3 separate regions of the Homo sapiens genome follow, and regions 2 and 3 are each linked to region 1. The links are contacts of gene promoters, found by promoter capture Hi-C in human tissues and cell types (Jung and others, 2019). All regions are on one chromosome and are shown on one strand. The core of a region is centred on a gene start or on the middle of the fragment in contact, and the rest is flanking DNA. Distances in the headings are between cores, read along the strand shown. Region 1 holds the start of CADPS2 (calcium dependent secretion activator 2). Region 2 overlaps CADPS2 (calcium dependent secretion activator 2). Region 3 has its middle 36 kb from the start of TAS2R16.

Region 1 (3,132 bases), core at 306-2,805:
GAAGTCAACTCAAAACCTCTCCAAATTTCTAAAAATGCCTCACACACTGAAGTTAATATTTCAGAAAACTAATAAATGTCTGTGCATGTAGGTATGCCTTGAGCAGACTACAATCTCTCTGGATCTCTAGGTCTTGTCACAAACTGAGGGAACTGTTACCGATTTCTACAGAACCTTCCAGGTTCAGCATTCTATTAAAAAGATTTCCTAGAGTTTGTATTGTAAACATTTAACCACTTAGGACAATTTGAGTCATTACTCGTGTCTGGTACAGAACATCAGGCCCCTGGGGTCTTGTTTTGAAACTCAAGTTGGCCAGCCTTTCACCTGAAACAAACTTCTTACCTTTTGGGGGAGAATAAGCATTTTGTTCCCCAAAAAAGCATTTGGAAAGCATTTGTTATGAAGTGATCATGCACCAATCCTTTATCTTTCATCAGTAATAGTATATTTCATTAATCAGGCCTGCCCAGACCAGAAATTACTTACCCACAAACACTTTACAAAGCTGCATGCCTTCTCGGTGTTTGGATTTGATGTCCTGGTTGTATGACAATATAGGAAACGTATTAATTTAACTTTTTTATTCACTGAGGAAAATTTCTACCCCTCTTAAGTGAAGACTTCACTCTAGCTAAGAGAAGTACTCGGGCTCCACCTGTTTCGCCTAGCTACAACACTCATTCAGACCCTCGGCAAACCCAGCTCTAGCAATATCACGCCAGGCTAGGTGGACAGGAATGCACCAGTGCTGTTGGAAATTAAAGTTGATGGGAGTTGCATTCTAATCCGGCCAGAGCTGCGCCTGCCGGGTGCAACCGCGGCGCGGCCGGCGCTGTCGGTCTCTGTCTCACGGATGGTGAGCTGACAGCTCCTGCCAGCCCAGGCGGGGAGGAGGAGAAGAGGTGTCCGCTGCAGCCGCATACCCGGCGGGTGAAAGCACCGTCTTGTCCCCAAAGATTCCTCTGCCCTCAGAGACTAACAAAAATACGGTGTCCTGCGTTTCGCAGAAGGACGGGAGGCGTCCCAGAGCTCTCCCGGGAGAAAAACCCAGGGAGAAGTGGTGGTAGGAGGCGCCCGGTCCCGCAACTCACCTTCTGCTGCCTCCGGGCCATGTCGGTGGGCTGCTTGGCGTTGAAGGGGTACGCGATGCACCTCACGACGAAGACGTAGAGCTGCAGGCGGATCCTCCGCTCCTGCTCATCGTCCAGCTGCCGCTGGGGCTCGTCTCGCCCCTCGCTGAGCACAGAGGGGCTCGGGCTCACAGATCTGGCCGCGCCGCCGCCGCCCGCGCGCCCCGGCGCGTCCCGCCGCCCTTCCCGAGTCGGGGCTGGAGGAGCTCGCTGCGAGCTGCCGGCTGCCACCAGCACATCGCGGCTTTCCTCTTCCAGCCCCTCGTCCGACTCCTCTTCGCTGGAAGACGGGTCCAGCATGGTGCTCGGGGATCCCCGCCGCTCGGCCCGCGGTCCCCAAGCGCCTCACCCCCGGCGGCTGCGCCCGCGGGTCTGAGGGAGCCGCGGGGCTGGCTGCAGCGGCCGCAGAACGAAAGGAAAACTGGCCAGGGCTTTCCGGACACGTCGAGTTAGATTCAGGAGTGTTTCCTACCACCAGGGCGAAAGGGGCGGGCAGGAGCCGGGAGGAGGATTGGGAGGGGGGAGAGGGGGAGCCGCCGGGACTGAATAGGCGGAGTTAGCGTTGGGGGTGAGCTTGGGCGCCTCAGGAATTGCTCCGCCAGCCCCGGGCGCGCCGACCCAGCGGTTCCCCAGAGCCCGCCGGCAGAGGCGGAGCCGCCCGAGCGCCCGGACGCAGGTGGGGAACCTGTGGCGCCTACAACAAGCAACACGTGGAATTGAATGTTGAAGAGCCGCGCGGGGCCGCGGAGTGCGCGTGCGCGCGCCGCCGCTGCTGCCCGGGCCCGCCTGGAGCCCTAGCACACAGTTTGCAAAGGCGGGGAGCGGCCGAGCGCGATGGCCCGTGTAAGCGTCCACCGGGGCTGCTCCGACTACCCTCACCCTACCACCTGTGATCTTTTCTCCAGCAGGTGGAGGTGGAATGGGGAGCGGGGAGGGACTGTTCCCTAGCAAGAGGTTAGGGGGAGCGGCCGAGACATCTCCCCAACCCGAATCGGCTGCCTAGGATTGAACCCCAGCGCGGAAAAGCGGGACTGGAGCCCTTCACCACGAAGTATCTTTGCGACAAGACTTTGAAAAGTCTCACTCTGCTCTGCTGCCGTTTTGATACTCATGCTGAAGCCCAAATTATAAAAGTCGGAGTAATGAAAAAAAAAAGAAAACCAACGAGGCTTACTTTTTAAACTGTTCTAGTCCTGCAGACTCAAGGCAAGAGAGATTTTATATGTGCAAAATGATACTGATTCAGCTCAAACATATCTCGATTATTTTCTGGGTTGGGATGCAGTTGACTCAAAACAGGTTGTGTAGTGTGGACATTTATTCAACAAAGATTTGAGCGCCCTCCCGGTGTCCAGCACTGTTAGCCTTTTGCGGAGCCCGCGGTGACTAAGGCACATGACACTCAGTCGCTGGTGGTTCTGGCCTCAAGTCGGCGTCTTGTAGCTGCGCTGAAGCCTGCCTTATCTGCGCAGATTTCTCAGTCCTAGTGCTGGAACCACCTAGGAGTTTCTTATAGTAATTCTGTATCTTATGTCCTAAGTCCTGACAGAGGGGGAAATAGGCAAAACAATGCATTCAACACCAGGTGGAGTGTGCAGCGACCAGGTGGGCAGGGAGGTGATGAAGTTCAGTGGAAATAACACAGGGCAAATTAACTACCAGCTCTGAGCTCCTCTACCACCATGGTCAAACAGCAGTTTTAGCTTTTTCAGGCCACTTTCATATAGTTAGGTACACAAGAGAGACTTCTGCACTTACTGACATTCTCTCTAGATGGGTAAAAGACAAGGAGGCATTTACTCCTGAGGAGTCTTACCTATTTTTCTGCCTAATCCATAACAGGCCCCCTAGTAATAAAAGGTCTTCAGTAAGAGCATGGCTGTGGGATGATCACAAACTGCCAAGAAATAGAAAATCTCAAACACCTATGTATTTAAAGGCAATGTTTTATTTTTGGCAAGGCAAACAAATAGCAATCTTGTCATAATAGCTGATGCTT
Region 2 (3,132 bases), core at 196-2,695, 140 kb before region 1:
AGAAATGTTCATCTTAATTTATTCTAAAACATTTTTCCATGCTATTTCATATGAAAAACTCCTTATCCAATAAACTTGCCCCAGCGAACAGTGAACACCTAAGCTGGCTGGATATAGATTGAAAACAAAGTTATTTTGGCAAACCAAATTCCACTGTCACACAGTGTTGACAGGACGATTTAAAAGCCCAAAATTTATAAACACCATATTAATATGTTTTATAATAAAATGTAAACTAAGTGATAAGTACAGAACAGCAAACTCCCATTGCATGGTGGACAAATGGACCCCAACCCAGTCTAGGCTCACTCAGCACTAAGTGAATGACGCCTACCCACATTCTCATTGATCTCCCAGTCCGATTCAAACCTCAGCAAAATTACATGTCATCATGGCATTGTCTGGCGTGGGCAGGGAGCTGGTGAATGCTAAGCTCCAAATGTTAAATCCATTAATTATTCCATGAGTTTCCTTGTCATGTTCTACTGACTACATTCCATGTACATCTCATTTTTCTTTTTTTTTTTACTTTATTGAACTATAACTGACAAGTAAAAACGTAAACATTTAAGGTATACAAAGTATACAATGTTTTGATATGTTACACTGTTAAATAATTAAAACTAAGCTAATTAACACACCCATCATCTTACAGTTACCTTTTGTGTCTGTGTGTGTGTGTGCATGGCAGGAGCGGTGAGAACATTTAAGGTCTACTCTTAGCAAATTTCAAATATAAAATATATTATTATTAATTATAGTCACTATGCTGTACACTAGATCCCCAGAACATTTTCATCCCACATAATTGAAACTTTGCCCTCTTCTAACATGTCTGATTAATCTTCTTAAAATTCTCTATATTTGTTACAAAGGATGAAACTAAGCTCAAAGAAGTTAAGGATCTTACTTAACCTCGCATCTAGTAAGAGACAGGGATAGAATTTCAACCAGCATCTTGATCCCAAAGCCTATATTCTTTCCGATTACCATATTATTCCGTTTCCCTCACAGCTACAGACTTCTTTCAATAAAAGGTGTTTATCCCTACGCAATGTGTTGTATACAGCTTGTAGGCATTTATTTGCTTATTATTTAAGTCTTTCCATTAGAACAAAAGTGGCTTTAGGATAAGAACTTGGTTTTAGCCTAAAACCAAGTTCTTATCCTAAAGCCGCTTTTGTTGTAGATAAGGCCTAGCACATAGAATATCCTCTTTTTTTTTTAAAGAATGAATAAATGAAGTAAGGGAAAGCAAATATCAGTTGGTTGCTATGAAACTATTCCCTACTGGGATAGCTACATCCTCTATTCTCATGCTTGCCTGACCCCACAAAAAAGTCGGTTTATCATGCAATAATAAAAATTCCAGATAATTTCAACACACCACAATGGATCAGAAAAGTCTATCATAGATAACTTAACCTATTTTATTAATTAGTAAGTTTATGTATTACTAACGGGGAAGTAGAAATAATAAGAGTTCTGAAGTCAGACTACTTCTGTTTTTATCCAAGATTCCCCTACAAGTTGTAGGGTCTTAAGCAGGTCCCTTAACCTCAGTGCCTCAAGTTCTTCATCTATATAATAAGGCAGTAAAAATAGACATCTAATAGGGCTGTTGCATTAAATGATAGAATAAAAATACTTAACACATATTAAATGCTTTATAATTGCCATGATTTTAGAAATACATGGTCATTTTATTTCAGCAATTGCAGAAGCCACAAACAAAAACAAATATTAAGATGGATGCCCGTGAATAATTAACAATAGATGGATCCACAGTTGTGCTGTCCAACACAGTGGTCACTAACCACATGCAGCTATTGAGCACTTGAAATGTGGCTAATCCAAGTTAACATACGTTTTAAGTTTGAAATACCAGATTTCAAACATTCAGAACCACAAAAAAAGAAAAGAATAAAAAAATACCTGCCAACCCCCACATTATAGATAAGAAAACAGACTGAGAGGTTAAGGTACAGACCCAGTTAGGTCATAGAACTGGGAGCCTAACCTAGGTTTCCTGAACCCCAATCCACAGTTTTTACTCTATCACAGGGGTGTCCAATCTTTTGGCTTCCCTGGGCCATATTGGAAGAAGCAGATTGTCTTGGGCCACATGTAAAACACACTAACACTAACGACAGCTGATGAGCTAAAACACACAGACACACACACACAGACACACACACACACACACCCTCATGTTTTAAAGTTTACAAATTTGTGTTGGGCTGCATTGAAAGTCATCCTGGGCTGCATACGACCTGTGGGCCAGACAAGCTTGCTCTATCACTACATTCCCCTTACCCACTGTTATATTCTTATTTGATTCTAGGTCTTCATTCACCTGAGCCTTACTAATGATAATCAAGGTAAGTGCTGAGGAGTTATTTAACAGGACTCTCCCTGAACATAGTAATAAGTAACTAAGAGAGAATTGGCAAGTCTTGTTGGTCATTATCTTCCAAAATTCTGCTTTAGGACTCTCTTATTCATTGACAGCGTCTGCCTCACTCACTTCTCTGAGAGTGAAAAGGACCATGATAATAGCCTCTAATGGTCCCCACTAACAATGTAACCTCATCAAAAGCAAATGTAAACCAATTATCACAAATAGCAGCCTGAGTGATCTCTGTGGCAAACAGCAATTGAGAGATGACTGTGGAGGCAGAGAGTTGAAGAGAAATAGAAACTTTAATGAGCCATTCTGAGAAGTTCTCATTGCAATAGAAAGCCATTCCCCCCAACACCCAGCCACCCACTAAGATCTGACAAAATCCAGGAGGTTTTGCAAACAAGTCTTCTCAGACATGTGCTATGGAAAAAAGGAGGGGAAGGAAGGAAGCTCAACACACACTGTGACCCTTTACCGTCCTACAAAATAGAAAACAGAGCCTGTCATAAGCCAGAGAAAATTTCTACCCAACGCTTTTCTACAAATAATTCCAGTGGACTATGTCAAATTAAATAATGAGGGACTCATTCTTTAGAAACAGTATGATATCCCCTTGACTACCCTTAATATATGTCTAATGTAACAACTAGTCATAATAGCTAACATTTATTGACCATTTACTACACACTCAGCACAATTCTAACCTCTTTACATAGATTATTTTAATG
Region 3 (3,132 bases), core at 472-2,971, 150 kb after region 1:
TGATCTTTAGAATTGTAAAGCCCAAGCTTTTTAAATATCTTTGTACCATTCTTCACTACTTTATACTGCATCTCAAAAAAGAAATATTTCTCAACTTATTTTCTTTTGAACTAGAAGAGAAGTGAGCTAATCAAGTTACATTTATAATAGCTAGATTTATTGAGAGGTAAGCATATGCTAAACACTTAGCTAGACTTACATGCATTATTTCATTTTCCACCTCAGCCATAGCAGGGGAATACTACTAGTATTCCTATTCAACTGCTGAAGAAACTAAGTCTTAGAGAAGTTTCACTCATCCTCAGTCACACAACTTTTAAATGGTGGAGTAGAGTTGGAATTTGGAATACGTGTTTCTAATACCTGGTATGTCTAGCTGGATGAAGATTGGGATTTGTTTTTGAAGATTCTTGGACAAATTCCATTTAATAAACTAAAAATAATCTTTGATATTTACAATGTAATTCATAGCTTTTTTTCCTTACCCTTGGAAAAATAAAGTTAAAAATTAACAAATATTGTTAACTAAATTAGTTATATCAAGGTCTGTGTGCTTGCATCTGAGAGTTATAAATTGCAACACAATGCATAAAGGGACTATGTAATCTTTGCTGAATTCCTTTGCGAACCTTCACATTTTCTGGAAATTATCCTCAATTATTGATAATTAGTTGCAATTCAAGAGGGCAAAAGGACAAAGGCACACAGGGTGCTGCCCATTGAAATAGTCCCGGAGTGTATCAGATGAGGAAAAGAAGTTCTGATTGGCCGTAATCACTGCCTGTCATTTCTCTCTTATTGGGTGTAACATTTCCCTCTTTGAAGTAGTTGCATGATTGTGTCCGCAGATGCTAACTTTGTGTTGGCCACTGTGGAGCCCACAAGAATGGCCTTATGGATATCCTACCACAGGAAGTATAACTGGCTGAGTGCCCTATGTGCAGCTGCACATTAAAATCTAATATTGCATTTGTGCAGAGGCCTGCCTCCCATGGACCACTCTACACCAATGACCAAGTGAGGTGGGGATACTAAGGCAGAGACCTCTTTTTGGGAGACAGATGACTCTTTCATTGGCCAACTTTGGCCTGAAAAAATTCACAAATGTTGCCAAAACTGCAGCCTCCCCTCCCTCTCTTCCACACACGGGGCAGATTCACGTCATGGCCTAAGGGCTCTCCCTTTCTTTTTCTCCCTTTCTATTTGCCCTTATATGGTTATTTTCCCTAAGAACTCCACTTCATGTCTAATCCTGTCTTCGTTGTGCCTTCTACGTTTGCAGAGTTGACCCAACATCTTTTAGTAAGGAAGGGTTAGGAATTCTACTTTGCTGAAAGATGCTGCAGAAGCCTTCTCCTTTTCTTCTGACACAAGGAAACAGGTGTCCTCTCAGAACCTTCACTCACTTCCTTTCTTGGCTGCTGGGCTGATAATTAGGGTTAAAGCCCAGCATCACCTGGCTGGGACATTCTGGATCTGAAAAGGGAGGAAAAAGACTATACATGTAAAACAGGGCTTATCAAACATGGCACTAGTGACAATTTAGATTGAATATTTTGTTTTCCTTGTGGAGGGTTTCCTGGGTATTGTAGGATGTTTAGCATGATCCTTGGCCTCTCCCCATTAGATGCTGGTTGTGACATCCTTGGTTGTGATAAACAAAAATATCTCCAGATGTTTCGAAATGTTGCTTGGGGGAAAAGATGCCTGCAGCTGAGAACAATTAACCTAAAGAATAACAAGAACTGGTTGAGGTCCTTTTTATCAGTGCCCCAACATTGGCATAGAGCAGTAAATTAAGGGAGTATTTTGGGATTTTGATGGTACTTGATTAGATGGCTGGATTCTAAAGCAAGATAAGCAAGTATTCATTTCTTAGGACATGAAATTTAACATGCTGCATGGCAGATGGCAGGTGAGAGAATAAAAAGATTGAGAGAAATGGGCATAATGGGATGGATATATTTTGTATGGCCAGAAGACCCACCAGAGGTCTGGGATCCAAGAGAGATCCCAGATAATACACCATTTACCAAGGTCATCAGGATTATACTGGTGAGACAGGCATCAGCATCACCAAGAAGTGTATACAGGCCAGTGATGATAGTAGGAGGTGCAGCCGCAGAGCTGGGCTTATTAGCATCTGTGGGAATGGTCGGGCTCCACAGTAATACAGGCCAGGTGGTATTGCTTAATTATCACAAGCCAGAAAGCTGGAATAATCATTATAATTGGTAAAGTCATTGTGGAGATGGTAACTATAGCCTGGTATTCCTAGAAGCAAGTAAATGGAAAGCCAGCAAGAGTGCTATGGAGAAAACACTTTCTACGCTTAGAAATATTGCTCTGGCACATATACCTGGTGACATAGAGGGCTGCTATCTTTGGCTGGGGCCAAGAGAAGTAAAAGTTACTGTAGCATATCCACTTGGCAGTGCAATCAGCCCCACTACTTGGCCAGTACAATACAGCATATCTTATGGTGATGGAAGTATCAATGGTGAGAAAAAATGCAGCATAGAGCTAATAGAATGATCCAGTATGAAAAATCACATTAAACACTCCTGGGATTCTAGGCTTCAGGTCATGCATCCCACCAACAAAGAGTTATATGTCCTTTGCAAAAGAGCTCTAGGCATTTGATATGGTTTGGTCATGTCCCCACCCAAATTTCATCTTGAATTGTAGCTCCCACAATCCCCACATGTCAGAGGGACCCAGTGTGAGGTAATTGAATCACAGGGCTGGGGTTTTCCTGTGCTGTTCTCGTGACAGTGAATACGTATCATGAGATCTAATGGTTTAACAAAGGGCAGTTCCCCTGCACATGCTCTCTTGCCTGCCACCATATAAGATGTGCCTTTGCTCCTCCTTCACCTTCCACCATGATTGTGAGACCTCCCCAGCCATTTGGAACTGTGAGTTCATTAAACCTCTTTTTCTTTATAAATTACTCAGTCTTGGGTACTTCTTCATAGCAGTATGAAAATGGACTAATACAGCAGCTTACTAGACCCTGCTAGATATGAAATGCTTAACCTATCATGTGACCATATGCCTGGAACATCCCATTATGAGATGAATTCTAGTGGATGATCCCAGTGGTAAGCAAGCTGGAAATTACACATCTTA

The links. Contacts are between HindIII fragments. The study calls those that stand out against the background at their distance.
Region 2: a fragment that was not itself captured here is called in contact with the fragment with the promoter of CADPS2 in region 1 in 2 of the 25 tissues and cell types used here (aorta and dorsolateral prefrontal cortex).
Region 3: a contact is called between a fragment that was not itself captured here and the fragment with the promoter of CADPS2 in region 1, in 1 of the 25 tissues and cell types used here (H1 embryonic stem cells).

The regions. Positions count from the first base shown.
Region 1 is chr7:122,884,905-122,888,036 of GRCh38, forward strand. It overlaps CADPS2 (calcium dependent secretion activator 2), which reads right to left and starts at 1,556. Exons shown (of 30, transcript NM_017954.11): 1 at 1,095-1,556. The coding sequence starts at 1,433. RefSeq lists an enhancer at 844-893 and silencers at 1,254-1,383, 1,424-1,473, 1,484-1,563, 1,634-1,793, 1,804-1,963. The HindIII fragment of the contact is 17,974 bases long and covers 1-3,132 here.
Region 2 is chr7:122,744,455-122,747,586 of GRCh38, forward strand. All of the region lies in intron 1 of CADPS2 (calcium dependent secretion activator 2), which reads right to left. The region is part of intron 2 of LOC124901738 (a long non-coding RNA gene); the gene reads left to right. Among named protein-coding and RNA genes, the nearest start is that of RNF148, 43 kb to the left of the region's middle. The HindIII fragment of the contact is 3,445 bases long and covers 1-3,132 here.
Region 3 is chr7:123,030,056-123,033,187 of GRCh38, forward strand. No RefSeq gene overlaps it. Among named protein-coding and RNA genes, the nearest start is that of TAS2R16, 36 kb to the left of the region's middle. The HindIII fragment of the contact is 5,146 bases long and covers 1-3,132 here.